2 separate regions of the Homo sapiens genome follow, and region 2 is linked to region 1. The links are contacts of gene promoters, found by promoter capture Hi-C in blood cells and fetal thymus (Javierre and others, 2016). All regions are on one chromosome and are shown on one strand. Each heading gives the region's core, a stretch centred on a gene start or on the middle of the fragment in contact. The rest is flanking DNA. Distances are from core to core; before and after follow the strand shown.

Region 1 (4,533 bases), core at 1,925-4,424:
AATAGTTAATTAATTTTAAGCAGCCCTGTGTTTAAATTATAGTTGAAAACTGAACTTCTAGGCAAAGGGGTACTTTGACCATTAATTTAGTAAGGGAAGAGTTGGTGCATGGATAAAGTATTAAGGAAGAACATGAAAGTAATTGTGTAAAATAGAATCTATATTTGGTATACCCAAACTGAAGTATCTACCCTTGAACAATTGTTTCTGCATACTTTCATAATTTTGCTCTTATTCTCTTTAAATCTTTGAGAAGACATCTGACTAATCTAAAATTCAATTTACTGATCTGATATGAGAAATGAATGGCATCACGATAGTAATTTAGTTTTCAATTTGAGAGCCTAAGTGTCACATTTCAACTACTTAATGTGTTTAACCTTTTTTTTTTTTTTTTTGAGAAAAAGAAAAAGACTGGCACTTGGATCTTTGTTCTGTCAAATTCTAGGTATATACGTTTATTTTTTCAGTTCTTTGCAGTGAAAAATAATGACTTTTTAGGCACTTGAAACCAGGTAGAATAAATACAACTGTGAAGATTATTTTATTTTATAGCCAGCAATTGGAGAAACGAATTTTAATGTAAAAAGCAAATAGATCCTAGAGTGTAAAAGTTTTTTTTTTTTCCTCCAAAGTGAGGTCTATGTGTTGCTATGTCTGGGTGCATTGGGGAATTGCCTTCTGATTTCATTCTTGAAGTATACAAAAAATTATTTCAGTGTAGGTAAGTACTAGGAAAAAGCTAAAATGAGAAGATACTCTCTGAGTTTTAGTCTAGGTTGGAGATTCTGAGGCTTAAGCATTTCCAAAAATGAAATAATTCTTGCAAACTCTCTGCATACTCTGTGATTTTATTTTCCTAGGGGGAAAGAGACTAGCTGAGGTGGCTTCCTGGGCAAGGCAAGGGCGAGGGCGAGGAAAGCTGGCGTGTCCCAGGGCGTCCAAGAGGGAGGAGAGTGGATGTGTTGTTTCCATGGACACACCACTGCTCCACTTTTCCTCTAGGTGGTGACAAATGTGACTGGATTTAGCCTGGTGAGGTGTAGGCTGGTTTATGAGAAATTTGTTCCCATAAACTTTTTCCAGTTTTTTCCCTACAACCTTTATACAAGTATATTACTTCCAAGCTAGAATTACTTTGTGATCTTACTTGGGAGATTTGTTTAATCCTTTCTAATGGGATATATTTAGGCTGATGGAATAATCCAAAAATTTTTTTAATCATCAAAAAAGCATACATCTGCATATTCAGGAAGCTACTTACTCTCTTGATGGCTTTTAAGACATTATGAGGATTTTCTGTCTCTATTTGCGTTTGGAACCTTCAGTGACTAAGATTCCTAGCCTTAGAAATAACTGTATACAGCCATATCTTTGGAACATGTGTGGCTTTGGTAAGAGTTATAAGGTACACTGGAGGGAAAAAGGGCTTGAGCGAGGGTGTCCCCCAACTGAAAGAGGCAAATTCAGAACAAGGGTCTACTTGTCTATTTCAATTAGCTAATTAGGAGATATAAGCATTAGAAATAGTGGAGCCTGTGACCACACAACTCACGCAGTCTAATAAAGTAACCTTTAGACAACAGCTGTAATGTAAAAGGCCCATGCCAAAAACAACAGAGCAGAGCCGAGTTCCTGTCCCTTAAAGCAGGACAGCTGAGATGGTGGCTGAGTTTAATGACAAAAAAGGACAAAACAAAACAAACAATAATCCCGACCAAGGTTTTCTGAAGAGAGGAAAATGTAATAATTAGAAGCTAGACATTTAACAAAGCATTGTTTTATGGAAAAGTGCCAACCTTATCAATAGACTTCTGGTGTCTTACTATTGGCTAAGAAGACATTTCAATTTACTGAATGTTTCCTGGGTGAAACTAAGATATTGTATCAATTAGTAAAAAATCTAAATTAGGATTAGCATAATTAGTTATGCAATGAAAATTTTAAGAACAACAACAAAAAATCCCTGATCTAGCATCAGTTTTTAAAAAGTACTCATTTTTTTCCTATACCTAATGTCAGTGGCAGAAAATGCTGAGAAATTGGGATATTGCTTTCCAAAGATCTTTTTCTTCTTAAAACAATTACATCAAAAGTTATAGCTAGGGATAAATGATTGTGACACAGATTTCCAAGTTACTGCCAAATACAGGGTTTTATAAAATTAAAAAGAAAGCTGGATCATTTAAGAAAAGTAATTTATTTCTGGCTTTGACTTTTTCCCGGAACAAACATAAAAAATGTACGATTTTCCTTCTCGGTATTAACAAAATATTTTCCAAATCCACTGCATGCACTGCATTCCTTTATCAGGATCTTATTCAGTTTGTGACTCTGCTGGAAACTGATATCTTAGAATTAATCTGATACGTGCTTTTACCTAGTTTTCTCTTGTTTAATGCTTAAATTACGTATATTAACATTCATTTTAATTATTTTAGGCTTTCTGGAACATGCTACCACACTACAAATATAAAGTTTCAGGTCATTTTTAAAATTTCTTTTTCTCTCTTTAAAAAAAATTCTAACTTTTTGAGGCATTCATAGCTTAAAAAAGTTTCCAAGTTGGGGATCTGTTTTTTTATCTAATGCCAGTCAAATGGACATTTAAGGAAAAACTGCATTTCTAAGGTACACCACAGAGTGTGAAAGATAGTTAATCAGACTGCCTTAACAGCTTTTGATTGTTGTTTAAAATGCAGGCACAGCCTTTTTGAAAATCAAGAACGTTTGCCCTGCACTCAGGTTCTGAAGCCCCAGAGTTACAGAGGGTCATGAGGGTTAAGAGAGAAACAGAGACTCGTCCATGAAGGCTGACAGTTCTGTTTTTCCACTTGCGAGGGCTCAGCGACAGGGGCAGCCGGCCACGGTCTGCCTTCCTCTAAGTAACAACGTTAATGAGTTATAACTGTATGCAGACTTACTGTGATGGCCTGGAGTCTTCCCTTCACCAGCTCAGCTTCTTCCATTCTAGAAGTCAAGGACAGTCAGACGGGGAAGCAAGTCCAAAGCTACCATAAATCAAGGAGCCTCCTGGGGGAGAGGAGCGGGGGTGACAGAAGAGAAGCAGGGAGAAATCCGCTCTTTGCACCAGTGGAGAAATAGAGAAATTCCCGACTTGTCAGGAGCGTCTCCGAGCAGATGCACAGATCAGGCCAGACAGACACATGTAATGAGGGTGTGCTGGGGAGGCAGACGCTGAGGCTGCTGGCATGAGTTGACTGACAAGTTTGAACGGCAGCGGCACAAGCCCTTTTCCTTCAGGAGCTGCCAGCTCTTTGTTGTAATGTGCACAGTTAGCAAGGCACATTTTCTTATTAACTGTTCCTTACCCAATTCATTATTTTCCAGGAGTGGCACAGAGAGCCAACACACTGAGTGTTTAATCAGCCTCTGCTCTAGCAACACACAGCCATCCCCGGATGTGTTGGTCTGTGTGTGTTTGTACAAAGCTCGTTTACCTGCTTGCTAGCTCTAGGGGAGAGAGCCTTACCTTGACTGAGGCAGAAGTGCCAAGTCACTTGTTTGCCTTTCTTCCACTGATTGGATTTGATAATAATACAACAATCTATAGCTACTTTAAACTTCATGTAGTGGTAAATTTACATTGGTTCGTTCTCCCCCGTCTACACCCCACCCCCGACCCCCCTGCTCAGCACTTTGTTGCAAACTTTGGAATCTTTAGGTCATGGAGAAATCAAAGGTGTTAATGTGACTATATTAAGAAGTTGGCCCACCAAGGTATTTAGTGTGGCTTAAGCACCAAGTGCCACCTTTTGTTATTGCTTGACTTGGATTTCTATGGAATGCAGTTTTCTTTCTTGGACGCTGTTCAGAAATGACACTCTTGGCTTTCAGGAAGGTGCCCATTTTGACCTCACCGGTTACGCAAGAGAGAGGAGTGAGCCTTTGAAAATGTGATGAGACATTTGGTAACTGCCTGGAGCCCGGCACTGTGTGAATATTCGCCCATCCTTTAGAAAAAGGCAGGCAAGCCCAGTGAGACTCTTAGGTCAAAGCAGAGGCTGGGAAGCTGTACAATTGGCTCTGTCTGTTTTCTTTTCCCTACAGGTTCTTTAATTAAATTTTGCTGAAGTAAATCCTAATTACCAACTACCTTATTATTATGTGTTTGAATGCTATTAAGCGCTTTCATATCAACATTCAGCTGAAGAGGTTAAAAGGACAACCCAAACATTGAACATATGGTTTAATTTCCTTTGCAGTTTTGATATTAGTAATAATAATAGCTAATATTTGTTGCATTCTTTCTACAGGTAAATGCATACTTGCAAAGTGCTGAGAGATAAGTGCTATAATCCCTACTTTAAAAATGAGGGAACAGGCTCAGAGAGGTAATTTGCCATATAGCTAGTAAGTAGCAAAGCCAGGATTGGAACACCAGCTGCCTGACTTTATAAGTGGCATTCATCAAGGACTGCCCAAGGACACGGGGCAAGGAGAGGCACAGGCTGAAGGTTAAGTCAGTCTTTATGAGAAGTGGTTGGACCCCCAGCCTCCTTCTCTGTCTAG
Region 2 (4,378 bases), core at 678-3,177, 870 kb after region 1:
ATCATATTTTTGTACTATCTTGCCAGTTTATAATATTTTATTGAATTCCTGACATTGCAAACTTTACTTTGTTGGATGTTAAATGTTTTTGGATTCCTATAGATATTCTTGAGCTTTGTTCTTGATACATGAGTAATTTATTTGGATACTGTTGGAGCTTCCTTTTAAGGTTTGTTATGCGTGACTGGAAAGGTGTTTTAGCTTAATTATTTCCTACTATTGAAGACAGGTCAGTGTGCTTTACCCAGTGTTCCATGAAACATGAGATTTTTCCAGTTTGGCCGGTGGGAATGGGTGATATGTCCAGCCTTGAGTCACTTCTAGGCAATGTCACTTTTAGTCTATTTAGTCAGTTTTTTCCTCTGTCCTTGGGTGGTCTCCTCATACATGGGCACTCAGTAGCACTCTGCTAAAGACATGGAGGGGCTTGCTGTTGACCTCTGGAGTTCTCTCTCTGTGAAGCCCTCTCTTCTCCAGCAGACTATCCCACATACTCTCAGCTCTGTCTCTTCAACTCAGAGAATTGGCCCGGCTCTGCCTAGATTCTGCATCCCTATACTATGTCCTGAAACACTCTTGAAGGCAATAAGATAGGGAAATAACAGGGCTCACATCATTTTCCCCTGTCTCTCAGAGATCATTGTCCTACATTGCTTGATGCTAGTGTTTTGATAACTTTTGTTTCATATATTTTGTCAATTTGTTTATTTTTCAGGTTGGGTGAAGTGTATGTCCCTAAGTGCATTCATTTTTCTTCTAAATGATAACTTCGTAAGTCTCAGAATTCTAAATAATGAATAAAATATTCCCATAGCAACTGTTACGTCTAACCAACCATGTAGACCCAAATCTTCCTTTGTAAAATACTTCACATAAGAAAACCTCAAAACAAAAACAAAACAAAAAAAATGATGGCTTCAACCAGAATTGTTTTTTGTTGTTGTTGTTAAGGAGCATTGCTTTGAATAAATATTTCTCACTTTATCTTTTGAAAAATTGCCTTTTAAAATTAATATTTTAATACTATTCTTGAGTAGCTATGTTTATTAAAGCACTAGATATTAATTTTGATTTTTCATTGCCAACTTAAAGCTGTTCTCAATAGACTATAGAGATAAATTCAGAAACTATTGGTTTTACATTTTATTCTTTTTTGAAATTTAGGATACTTCTCTGCAAACTTAATTTTAGAAAAATATTTGAATATTTTTTAAAAGCACAGTAAAGCAATGGCAATATTTTCTAATAACACATAATTTTTGTGTGGAGAAAACTTACTAACTTATAAACCTTCAAATCAGTTGCTTAGACTATACCTGCAGGTAAAATGAGCTATTTGGCCTGAATTGACTGCTTGGTTGTTCAAAATCCCTGAAAATTCAGTTAAATTGGTTGGATCATTACATAGTATGAAACTGGCAGATTGCTTATTCAAAAATGGTTGAATTGGCTGTATGTGGAGCTATAACATGAATCTGGAATAGTAGTCTCATGCTGGGTGCTAAGGGTACTAGAAAGAACTAAGAAAACATTTGTGAATATTTTTTATCCCATAATTATGCTGTTTTTCATCAAAGGACTTTGAAGTTACAATAGTATTAATCTCCTTAAATCTAAGGTGTGTATGTCATTAGAGAAATGATGCTGGGTACTTGCAAATTGTCCATGGCATGTATTATAGACATAATAGTAAATGAGAGGAAATCACAGCGAGAACTTAGAATTATCCCATTTACACAATAAATAGAACACCTGTTATAACTAAATTAAACACACACCAGCAAGAAACTGGCCCAATCTTTACCCAAGGACCACTGAAAAGCTTAAACAGAAACCTCAAATGGCATTCAATAAATAGATTAGTATATTCATGCTAGATTTACAAGGTATACCTCAGCACTTCTTGTCACTGAAAAGTCAGTAAGCGTTACAGTTACCAATAGACCTGCTTAAAACTTCTTCCTAAAAGTAAGAACGGAGGTTTTTGCTTAGGATGTTATTTGGGGGATTAAGAGATTTAGACAAAGCTTAACTGGGAAGAATAGTATAGTTTCTTTGAAATCTTGTAGTTTAAAGCTGAGTTGACAATTGCACATTCACTAGTTTAGTTTCTTTCCTAACTCTGAATGATTTTGCTAAGAAAGAAGAATGCAGGCCGGACTGAGCATTAGAAAAGAAATATCATGATATAAAATGAGGGCTGAGGTAAAGGTGAGGGTAAATGACTATCCAAATGTGATATCTCATAGATCCAATTAACTTTAGAGTTAGAAAATAGTGAAACAGCCAGCTCATATTCCCTAATTTTGCAGATATTCTAGGAAGTGAAGCGACTTCACATGAACACAGGATAAAAGTCCACCCAAACAGACTGATTGTTAGCAGTTCTCAAAGACTTACCAGGTAGATCACCAAATTTGTGGACACTGATAGTTCCCCTTCCCTGAGGTTCAACAGGGTTTCTAAAGGTGAGGGAGGCTGGCTGTCGCTGGCAGCACGCAGTGCTTCTTTCTGCCTCTACATAGTGTGGCTGGCACTCTTTCTATCTTCCAAGGGACTTCGCTGAGAAAGCTCCACTGCTTCCCATCACTGTAGATCTAATGTTTCAGAGAAACATAAAGTGACTGATGCTTCCAAAATAAATTCTTGATTTCTTAGACTGGGGAAGGGAACTTAGGGGCATGGTTGAGAGCACTGACTTAGGTGTGAATCACACTGATTGTTTTGTGAAATTGTATGAGCTATTTCACTTCTCCAAGGCTTACTTTCCTTATGTGAATAAATACAATAATTGTTCCAGTTTCATAATACTGAGAAGGAATAATCACATGTAAGATGCTTAACCCAGTATCTGTCAAAAAATATTATCCGTTGTCACAATAAAATAGCATTGCTCATCTCCTATGTTTCTTTACCTGGAAGAGCATTGTTGTCTGGTAGACCCTTATTTTACTCTAGATTCACAATGGGGGGAAATGACATTTTTATAGATTACAAAGTTATTGAGGCAGCCGTGGAAAAAATTGTCACACATCAAGTGTGAAGTATTGTAAACACATCATAATGAAATCAACACCATATTATTACAAACTTCTCTTTCATATTTATCTGGGGTCACAGGTTTCTCAAAGGACTGTGGGCTTGAAAATATAGTGTCAATGGAGCTTCAATGCCAGTCTAATGGTGATGGCAATGACCCATAAGATTCTGGAGTTGGGACTGGGTGTGGTGGCTCATGCCTGTAATACCAGCACTTTGAGAGGCCAAGCTAGGCGGGAGTTTGAGACCTGAGGTCAGGAGTTCGAGACCAGCCTGGCCAACATGCTGATACCCCATATCTACTAAAAATACAAAAATTAGCCAGGCGTGGTGGCTCGCACCTGTAATCCCAGCTACTTGGGAGGCTGAGGTAGGAGAATCGTTTGAACCCAGGAGGCGGAGGTTGCTGTGAGCTGAGATCGTGCCACTGCATTCCAGCCTGGGCTACAAGAGCAAAATTCCATTTCAAAAAAAAAAAAATGTGGAATTGGGAAAAATGTCTTTCTGCACTTCTTTACCCTCTTCACATCCTCTTTTTCCTCAAACAAGCTGGATTCAAAGAAGGGCTGGGAGCCGTGTGGCTTGTTGGTAACAGCTCCTGAAAACTCAATGTAGCAGTGTAATAGGAGAGAATGAAATGGTAAAAGAGAAAAGTGAGAATCACTGAATTAATTCAGTCAAGTGTCTCTTTGCTTCCTGTACTAGAACTAGAGTCAATGTATGTTGGAATAGTAATCACTTATATAAATTATGTTTCTCTTATTTCTGTTTAAAGAACTTTGAGTGAATGAATTATTAAATTATTGAATGAAGGTGAGCATGATATAAACAAATTTATTCTTCTCCATAAGATTTGTTTGGACATGGTGCAAAATGAATGGCTCTCAGCTTTCAGAAAGAGTGTTCCCTGCACAGTGTGCCTCCCTTTTTCTGCTGAGCCACATGTGACAAGAAAACACAATTAAATTTTCAGTTGGGTTTTGCATTTTTCTGATCTTCTAACAACTGGGTGTCAGATATCTCAATGCATAACCACCCACTCACAACAAGATTATACATTAGACTCTTTGTTATCTACTTTTATGAAGGATTTCTGAATGCTAAAAGGAATAAATTAACTGTGCCAAATCTGTAATAAAGTTGTTCTCTCTATCTGATTGTTAATATTTCCACGATTGTACAGTAATCCTCATCAAGGACAAGAGTATTTACATCATCCTAAAAGAAGGACACAGAAAGGAATATAAAATGCATTTGATTCTTGGAACTATATATCCATATTTGCTCTAGACTAAATATCACAATAGTATCTAATAGCCAGGTGTAAAATAACTATTAG

What was found. The method cuts DNA at HindIII sites, captures the fragments that hold promoters and counts their contacts. A CHiCAGO score of 5 or more calls a contact.
Region 2: a contact is called between a fragment that was not itself captured here and the fragment with the promoter of PALMD in region 1, in 6 of 17 cell types (naive CD8 T cells, naive CD4 T cells, total CD4 T cells and 3 more). The highest score is 7.6, in naive CD8 T cells.

What each region holds. Positions count from the first base shown.
Region 1 is chr1:99,644,754-99,649,286 of GRCh38, reverse strand. It overlaps PALMD (palmdelphin), which reads right to left and starts at 3,174. Exons shown (of 8, transcript NM_017734.5): 1 at 2,925-3,174. The coding sequence starts at 2,969. The HindIII fragment of the contact is 18,161 bases long and covers 1-4,533 here.
Region 2 is chr1:98,777,962-98,782,339 of GRCh38, reverse strand. No RefSeq gene overlaps it. Among named protein-coding and RNA genes, the nearest start is that of SNX7, 120 kb to the right of the region's middle. The HindIII fragment of the contact is 205 bases long and covers 1,825-2,029 here.